2 separate regions of the Homo sapiens genome follow, and region 1 is linked to region 2. The links are contacts of gene promoters, found by promoter capture Hi-C in blood cells and fetal thymus (Javierre and others, 2016). All regions are on one chromosome and are shown on one strand. Each heading gives the region's core, a stretch centred on a gene start or on the middle of the fragment in contact. The rest is flanking DNA. Distances are from core to core; before and after follow the strand shown. Region 1 overlaps HIRA (histone cell cycle regulator). Region 2 holds the start of HIRA (histone cell cycle regulator).

Evidence for each region. The method cuts DNA at HindIII sites, captures the fragments that hold promoters and counts their contacts. A CHiCAGO score of 5 or more calls a contact.
Region 1: a fragment that was not itself captured here is called in contact with the fragment with the promoter of HIRA in region 2 in 1 of 17 cell types (erythroblasts); the score reaches 5.3 in erythroblasts.

The regions. Positions count from the first base shown.
Region 1 is chr22:19,388,417-19,393,125 of GRCh38, forward strand. It overlaps HIRA (histone cell cycle regulator), which reads right to left. Exons shown (of 25, transcript NM_003325.4): 9 at 3,685-3,798; 10 at 68-138. Among named protein-coding and RNA genes, the nearest start is that of HIRA, 41 kb to the right of the region's middle. The HindIII fragment of the contact is 5,446 bases long and covers 1-3,973 here.
Region 2 is chr22:19,429,946-19,434,374 of GRCh38, forward strand. It overlaps HIRA (histone cell cycle regulator), which reads right to left and starts at 1,788. Exons shown (of 25, transcript NM_003325.4): 1 at 1,495-1,788. The coding sequence starts at 1,531. MRPL40 (mitochondrial ribosomal protein L40) reads left to right here and starts at 2,600. Exons shown (of 4, transcript NM_003776.4): 1 at 2,600-2,662; 2 at 3,320-3,403. The coding sequence starts at 2,610. RefSeq lists enhancers at 255-384, 625-694, 643-1,390 and silencers at 1,675-2,074, 2,365-2,674. The HindIII fragment of the contact is 6,181 bases long and covers 1-4,147 here.

The sequences.
Region 1 (4,709 bases), core at 1-2,500, 42 kb before region 2:
AGGCCTCATGTTCCAATGTGTGGCTTCTCCTTTCTTAACCTATTCCTGTAAGTAGAATCCACCTTACCAGGAAATATCCATGATGGATTTGTCAAACAGTTCATGGATGACCACCAGCGGCCGTTTCAGACATGTGAGCTGGAAGGAAAGACACAGTCAAGGTTAATGAAATTACTGAAATCCCCTTCTGTATTCAGCTCAGTTAACATAACCAACCTAGAAGCCTGGGTCAAAGTGGCTGCTGATATTTAAGGCATCTTCAACTCTATTCAAACTGCAGCTGCAGAGATCCCAAACTGTGGGAACCAAAGCCTGCCAAAAATGTGCATGCTACCTAGAGTGGACCCTGCCTCCAGGGCTTGCTGTGGTCTGACAGGGGAAATAGCTTTATACACAGATAACTAGCAACAGAGAAGGCAGAGTGGGAGTGGGTTTCTGAAGGGCTATGGTCGGAGGAGAGGGACAGCCCCAGGGTGGACCTCTGAGAGGGTCTATGGAGCAGGAGACACGATGCCAAAGCCTAGACAGGGGATGAGGCACCCTGAGAGAGAACACAACACATCTTCCCTGGGCCCAAGGGACTCTGGTACACATTTATCCAAGGCTCATTCTACACTATGTGTAGGTAGTACAGAAATACACACCTGGGCCCTTAATCTGGGCCTAGTTACCGACTATTAATACTTTGATGAATTATTATCTTCTATTTTGTGCAAATATTTATTTTATTCTTCAAAGTAAGAATTTATTTTATTCTTCATAGTTGTGTCTGTTTTTTCATTTAACACACAATAAGTATGTCATTAAATATCCTGTAAAAGTCTCTTCTGGATGACTGCATAGCATGCACTGTGCATATTCTCTATCGAGTCACTCAATTGCTGGCATACACTCTGACTCCACGTTCCCACAACTATGGTAGGCCTTTCCACTTGTGCACAAGTGCCTGGCTACCCTGCTGGCTGGCCCTGAACTGCAGGACAATGGGCAGGGAAGAAACACACTTCCTCACGGGATGGTGGGCTCCCATAGGTGCTGCTGCAGCTTCTGGGAGGCTGTGGGGCTGAGCGTCCCAGTGCAGCCTGAGACTGCTATGTGGGGAAGGAGAAGCTGTGTCTACCCTAGTGGTGGAGAGGGGGCTGAAGTCTGAACGATCTGGAACCCACATTAAGAATCTCGCCTCCACCTTAATTCCACTTCTAGAAAAAGCTGCCTTGTCCCTCCTCTCATAAATGTGCCTACAGACCCCTCAGAAATCTACAGGCCGTGTGACTGCCTAACCTGAGCATTCTAAGAAATATGGGCATCACAGTCAGTGATGTTTTGGTTGCAGCGCCACAAACAGGGCCTCTGGCTGGGAGGAAACAGGGAAGGTCCCCTGAACGGCAATCTGTGGTACTGTGGTTCAGGTTCCAGAATGGGTGTTAAGTGAATACTTGGCCTAAAAAAAAAAAAAAAAATCACAACGCACACAGTAATATATTTCTCTATACCAAACTAATAAATGCAGCCAGAGGATAACCTTCAAACCCAGAACTTCCAACTTGCTCTGCTTATAGGGACACTTTTTTACAAAATGAAAAAAAAAAAAAATTAATGTGTGTGCACTTTGCTTTATCAAACTTTAAATATATTGGCACCTTGATGCTCAGCACCAAGACTGCTCCCTGCACTGCATGCGGAGGTGTCTCTTACCACACAGTCAGGTCACAGCACACCAGCCCCTGGCAGTGAGAAACTTAACCCTTCAGGAGCCCTCACTTAGAAACCGCCACAGTTCTTACCCTTGGGTTCTCACTCGCCAACTACCATTGAGTATATCTGCTGAGAACCTGCTCTGTAGAGGGCACTGAGTTAGGAAGGTGAGGGGAACAATGAAACTGAAGACACATCGGGCTGGGTGTGGTGGCTCACACCTGTAATCCCAGTACTTTGGGAGGCCAAGGCGGGCGGATCACCTGAGGTCAGGAGTTTGTGACCAGCCTGGACAACATGGTGAAACCCCATCTTTACTAAAATTACAAAAAAATTAACCGGGTGTGGTGGCCTGTAATCCCAGCTATTCAGGAGGCTGAGGCAGGAGAATCTCGCTCGAACCCAGGAGGCAGAGGTTGCAGTGACTCAAGAAGCCAAGATTGCACCACTGCACTCCAGCCTGCTGGGCAATAGAGGGAGACTCTGTCTCAAAAAAAAAAAAAAAAAAAAAAAAAAGAAGCTGAAGACATCGCCTCATCTCAGGGGATCCAGCGAGTGAGGAGTACTAGGCTCACAACCTTACCCATCACAGCATCACCCAGGGGTGAAATGGACTAATAGAGGCGTCAGCTTTCTGTGTGTCTTTTTCTGTGGACATAAGCACTTATCTGTCTTGGTTGTATGCCTAGGAGTGGAAGTGCTCTAGGTCATATGCTTAGCTGTGGTAGAAACTGCCAGACAGTTTTCCCAAGTGCTCATGCCAGCGTAAACACCTGTCAGCAACACGTGTCAGCAATGTATCAGTTCCAGCTTATCATGTCCTTGCTGACACTTGGTACTATTTTTTTGTTTTTTTTTTTAATTTTAGAACTCTACTCATAGGTATGTACTCATAAATGAAAACGTACATCCACATAAAGACTTATACAAGAATGTTCATATCAGCTTTAGTCATAATATCTCAAAACTGGAACAATCTTAATGTCCATCAACAGGAGACTGTATAAACAAATTGTGGTGTATTCATACAGTGGAATGCTACACCGAAATTATAAGGAATAAAATACTGTTAAGTGCAGCAACATACACGAATCTCAAAAACACTGTGCCAAGCAAAAGAAATGAAGACACAAAGAAGCAAGTACCACACAATTGCATTTATATGAAGTTCAAGAGCAGGCAAAACTCATCAGTGTAACAGAGGCCATTAGAGTGGTTGCTTTGGTGGTGAGGGAGGTCTTGACTGGGGAGGGACAAAGGGACAAAAAGGAGTGCTCTAGGCAGTGATGACACTGGTGTGTAAACATGTATGACAACTCACCAAACTGTACCTTTCAGGTGAATACACTTTATATAAAGATTTTTCTTTTTCTTTTTTTTTTTTTTTTGAGACGGAGTCTCGCTCTGTTGCCCAGGCTGGAGTGCAGTGGCGCGGTCTCAGCTCACTGCAAGCTCTGCCTCCCAGGTTCACGCCATTCTCCGTCTCAGCCTCCCGAGTAGCTGGGACTACAGGCGCCCACCACCACGCCCAGCTAATTTTTTGTATTTTTAGTAGAGACGGGGTTTCACTGTGTTAGCCAGGATGGTCTCGAACTCCTGACCTTGTGATCCGCCCACCTCGGCCTCCTAAAGTGCTGGGATTACAGGCGTGAGCCACCGCGCCCAGCCATATAAAGATTTTTCTAATAGGAAGCAAGCCCAACATGCTGCTCATGGCATTGACCACTGAGGGTGCTGCCTGAGTCTGGACACAAGAGCTGGTCTAGGTGGGGGTCAAGGTGGCCTCTCCTGGCTGGGCACAGACCCAGTCTTCAGCACTTCCTTCTGGGAGAGCAGGAGAGCCTGTGAGCTTCCAAGGAGGGGCTGACCCCAGGTGCAGAATAGAAATACACTCTTAGCATCACCCAAAGCAGGTCTCTTTCCTCCACTTGCTACTTTACCAACCTACACCTCCCGTCCTGCAACAAAAGCTCAGGATAGCAGGCTCACCCAGACAGAAAGCGAGCGGTCCTTGCTGCCAACAGCACAGCAGCAGTACGGGCAGCTAGGCTTCGCAGAACTCCCATTCTTCTGCTTCTTTTTGAAGATTTTTGGGTTGAATTTCTAAAGCCAAATAACAGATGTTAAAAATAATTAATCAAGCATCAGGCATGTCCCCTGTGCCCAAGTCCCAGCCCACTGAAGGGAGTCTCCCACAGACATTCTCTGAGCCCAGGCACTGAGCATGCATTTCATCTTCCCGACCACCTATGAGGCATCTGGCTGATGATGGAAAGGAAGCTTAGGGAGGTCAGAAAGTATGTGCGGAGGCACCAAATGAGTAAGCTGGGAAATGCAGATTTGAAACTAGAGCTACCAAACTCTCCATTTCTGGAGCTTGCCAAGTAGAAGGGATGCGTAGCTACTGAAACTAGCCTTCTCAATTCCCTCTGGCCAGGCAGGGCCAGCCCTAGGACCTGCAGAAAAGCTGAGCCTGCAAGGGGGCTTCAGAAACAAAGACCTACTCACTCCCTATCTCCTAAGGGAGGCCAAGGGGATGGGCAGGAGGGGTGTGAATCTCTGAATTCCTTATTGCCTCACTGCATTTGTTGTTCAGTCATAACCGTCTAGCAGAGATCTGCTCAGTCAGAGAGTCATTTGTGATCTCCCTGGGCCAGTGACCATGGCAATATCACACAAAGGTGCTTGGTTGGCTGCTTAGTCCAGGGAACTACCCCGAGAGTAACTTGTCTTTGTTTCTGCAAAGGATGAAAGCACTCACTGAGCTCCCAGACACCCTCCTGGATTTAAAGGGGTGGGCGCTCTGGGAATCCCCAACCTAGGACAACTGAGGGCAGAAGAAGGAGGGTTCCTGAAAGCCTGGTGTCAGGTAGCCTAGAGATGTTTTAATTCCAGAGGGCAGGCAGGAATGGCCGGGGTGCACAGAGACTGGAGAAGATGGAACTCAGAGGCGTGTCCCTGGGCTTGCTGTCTCTAACACCAATGAGGCTGCAGGGCCTTAGGAGCTCTGTGAG
Region 2 (4,429 bases), core at 538-3,037:
TCCAGGGAAAGATCTGCACAGTACACATCAGGAAATGCTCTTGGAGATCAACAGGAGAAATGAAACTAAAACTCAAGGCTTCGGCTTTCATGCACAGTAAACCTAACTTCATCTTGATAAATTATGAAAACCTCAGCTTTCTTACCTGTTTTAGCCAATATTTATCACATACCCATCATGTGGAAGAGGTTGTTCAATGCAGTAGGGCATACAGAAGGGACTGAGGCAGTCCCTACCCTGGGGGCATATGGAAAGTACCCTCACACCTTCCATGCCAGGCAAAACACACAGACAGTGATACAGCACATCTACCGGGGTAACTCAGGATGAACAGTTTCAAAAGAAACACGTGAACCTAGTCCCTGAAAAATGGGAAAGATGTCACACAAGATGGAAGGAGAGAGAGGTGGCAGGAGGAGAACACACACATGATCAGTTCAGTTTAGTTGTGGTAGTAGAGAGCATCCTGGGACCAAATTCAAAACGAAAAAGCCACATGTTAAAATATCTATTCTCGCTCCTAAAGAAAACGGTAGCACCCTGTAGTCGCACTGCAAAGTAGAAATGAGGAACAAGACAGCATCAGGGTGACCCTTTGCCTGTCAACAGTCAGACAGGCCAGAATCAGGCCCTGGGCTGGAGGAGTCTCCCTGGGTTGATTTCTGTGCTACAGTGCTGTCAGCAGAGTGGGGTGGGGGAGGGGGAGGCGCGCTTTTTTCATCTACCCGGGGAGCAAACACCAACTCCTGCAGCAGTTCTGCCAACAAGGCAGAACTATGACGAAACTGATTACCACTAGCCTCTCTGTATCAGAGTCAAGATATGGGGTGGATGAGTCCGTTCCCCAAGGGTGTGCTTTGGAGCCACTGCCACAGAGCTAAGAAGCCCCTCTGCTAGAACACACCTGTGCCCTATCTGCCCAACCCTAGTTCACCCTGATGTCCCAGCTCAGCATTAATCGTGGATCCTTCGCGGGGGCCCGGGGCCCCCAAACCCTCCTATTTAGGGACCACAATTCCCCAACTGGGGGCACTGTCCCCAGATCCAGAGGGGCAGTAACAGTCCCTCTTGCAGATTTCGGATCTTCATCCTGCCACTGAAAGGCCACAAGGGGGATTTCATCCCGGTTTCACCTTCAGGACCGTCTGAGCACTTCTCGGGCGATGCAGACCAGTGGAAGGCACTGGCTGGCACCAAGGCCCGCTCCTGGGAGCCAGGCCGCGGCCCCTCCAAGGACCACAGGTGGGCAGCGGAAGACTCAGAGCAAGAGCCAGGGGCGAAGATGGCCCTCGCTGCGGTCAACCCGGAGCACGTGCTGGGGCTCACCAGCCTCTCCGCGCTGAGGACAAAGTCCGCTCCCGCCGGCTTCTTGGCTTGGGCACCGGGTACCGGGCGTCAGGGGCGAGACAGGCAGGACTTGCGCGCGCCCCGACTCGACTCCAGACCCCGACCCGACTCCGGGCTCGGCCTCCCGCGACCCCTGCGCGCACTCACCATTGTGGTTGACCCAGGTCGGCTTCAGGAGCTTCATTGTTCGGCCGCCGCCGCCGCCGGGCTGAGGCGAGCGCCGGGTCCCTCAGCGCGCCCGGGCCATGGAGCCACCGCCGCCGCTTCCTCCCGCGCCACCCGCCCTCCGGCCGCCGCCCGCCCCGCGCCCTCAGGGCCGCCGCGCCATCGCCGGCCCGCGCCCCCCTCCGCCGCCACAGCCGCCACCCGCGCTCGGCCGCCGCCGCCGCCACCACAGCCGCATCCCCTGCGCCGCTCCTCCTCAGGCGGCTCCCGGGCAACGCCGGAAGTCACGGCGCGCACCTGCCAAATCGCCCCGGCGGGAAACCGCTCCCCACGCGGACTGGGCCGCCCCGGCTCCTCCGCTGGCAGGGGCTTCGGGTCGGGCCCGGGCGCGGGCGCCCCAGAAAGGGCGGTTCGCCTGGACGGCGGACAGCGAGCGGGGCCTGCAGTTGCAACCCGGGCCGCCCGCAGAGGCAGGCGGGGCCCAGGTGGCGTGGACCGCCCGTCACCAGCTCTGCCTCGCCAGTCTGAGTCCGACTTATTAACTAGCTTCCGTCATTCATCAACACGCGCTATTGGGCATCTTGCGAGCGCCGGGCTCCGCGCCGGCGCCGGAATGCGATCCGGGCTTCGGACTCGAACGAATGCGGGGGACGAGCCAACCCTGGTGGGGGAGGCTGGGGCGGACGCGTTTATTAGAAGATCGGGGCCGTTTGCCTAGACATGAACATTTGGACTCGGAGGAGCAGAGGGACGCCCCCTCGGCCGCTCCGGCTGCACTGCGGAGCCGAGGCCCGCGCGAGGGCGCAGACCGACCAACCGGCTAGGGCCTGACTGGCTAGACTGTGCCCGCTGCAGAGGCGCGCTCCCAGCACAGGGCGGGGACGGAAGGGAGGACCCCGAGCCGCGTGAAACGCAAGGCCCTCGTGTGTGCGCAGCTGACACCCTAGGCGGGGCTGCGTCGGGGGCGGGGACAGGCGCGTCCCAGCCCACGCAGCCGGAACGCCTGAGCGCTGGGCGCCTGGTCTGCCGGACCTCAGCAGGGGGCACCGCGGGCCGGACTGTGGAGGGGCGCACGCCCGGAAGCGGCGAGGGTAGCCATGACGGCCTCCGTGCTGCGAAGTATCTCGCTAGCCCTGCGCCCGACTAGCGGGTGAGTGCGGACGCTGGCCGGATAGCGGAGTGCCCAGGGCGCGTGCGGGGTCTTCGCGACTGTCCGCCAGGACTCGCCTGTGCTCCCTGCTCGCCTCCCAGTCCACGAATATCTCAGGGATGAGCCATCTGGTCGTGACTCTTATGCATGAAAATCTGAGCACCCTGGCGAGCAGCGGTCCTGCTTAAGTCCTCTGTGGTCTGAACGAAAGATTTTGAAAAACCTTCCACGTTGACCTTGCTGTCATATCAAGTAGTTAGAAGTGCCCCGGGTTTGGGAGCATTGCAATTTTTTATTTTCCTGTGAAGTGGGAGAGAATCAGATATTTATTTATTTATTTGAGACAGAGTCTCGCTCTGTCGCCCAGGCTGGAGTGCAGTGGCGCGATTTCGGCTCACTGCAACCTCTGCCTCCCGGGTTCAAGCAGTTCTGCCCCGGCCTCCCGAGTAGCTCGGATTACAGGCGCCCAACACCACGCCCGGCTAATTTTTGTATTTTTAGTAGAGACGGGGTTTCACCATGTTGGCCAGGCTGGTCTTGAACTCCTGACCTCGCGATCCACCCGCCTCGGCCTCCCAAAGTGCTGGGATTACAGACGTGAGCAACCGCGCCTAGCCTGGAGAAGCAGATATTTATACATACTCTTGTATCTTTCAGGCTTCTGGGAACTTGGCAGACGCAGCTTAGAGAGACTCACCAGCGAGCGTCATTGTTGTCTTTCTGGGAACTCATTCCCATGAGGTAAAACTCAATCGAGGGCCTGACCTCTGGGGGTAAAGGTGTCAGTCTATGTGTAGAGAACAAAGCAAGAATGCTGGATGTGTGGTTTGCAAAATTAACAGCCTACAAAGTTTCTCAGTTAAATTTAGGCCGATGCTTTTCTGTTTTTCCAACATTTTCCAAACCATAGATTGTTGTTTGTAATTTTTAAAATTTGAGCAGTTTCTCAAGAAGTAAGTATTCTCCTTGAAGGGATTCTTGTGTGTTTTAAAGGACACAGCTTAAGTTTCTGTTTCTCCATGACCCTTCCTCTTCCCTGCCCATTCGGAGGCCCTGGAGAGTGTGGGGAAGATGCAAGTATTAAAGGTATTTCCATCTGGCACTCTCGACTCTTTGTAGATACTTGATTCAGTCAATCTTGATAGTAAAGGATTTGATTTTTCTTTTTTTTTTGAGATGGAGTCTCACTGTGTCACCCAGGCTGGAGTGCAGTGGTGTGACCTCGGATCACTGCAACCTTCGCCTCCTGGGTTAAACTAATTCTCCTGCCTCAGCCTCCCAAGTAGCTGGGATTACAGGCGCCCACTACCACGCCCGGCTAATTTTTGTGTTTTTAGTAGAGACGGGGTTTCACCATGTTGGATGTTGGTCAGGCTGGTCTCGAACTCCTGATCTCAGGTGATCCACCCACCTCAGCACCCAAAGTGCTGGGATTACAGGCCTGAGCCACCGCACCCAGTCCACAAATCAATTTTAATAGTAATAAGCTTCTAATCTAACAGTTTGGTATTTTCACTTTTGAGTGTAATCCCAAGGCACACCTGAATCCCAGCAATAAAGAGGAACACTTCCCGATTTTATACCCTGATGCCTCTTGTTGCTTTTGTACTTTTTTTTTTTTTTTTTTTTTTTTGAGACAGAGTCTCGCTCTGTTACCCAAGCTGGAGTGCAGTGGCGCGATCTTGTCCTACTGCAACCTCCGCCTCCCAGGCTCAAGTGATTCTCCTGCCTCAGCTTCCCGAGAAGCTGGGATTACAGGTGCGCACC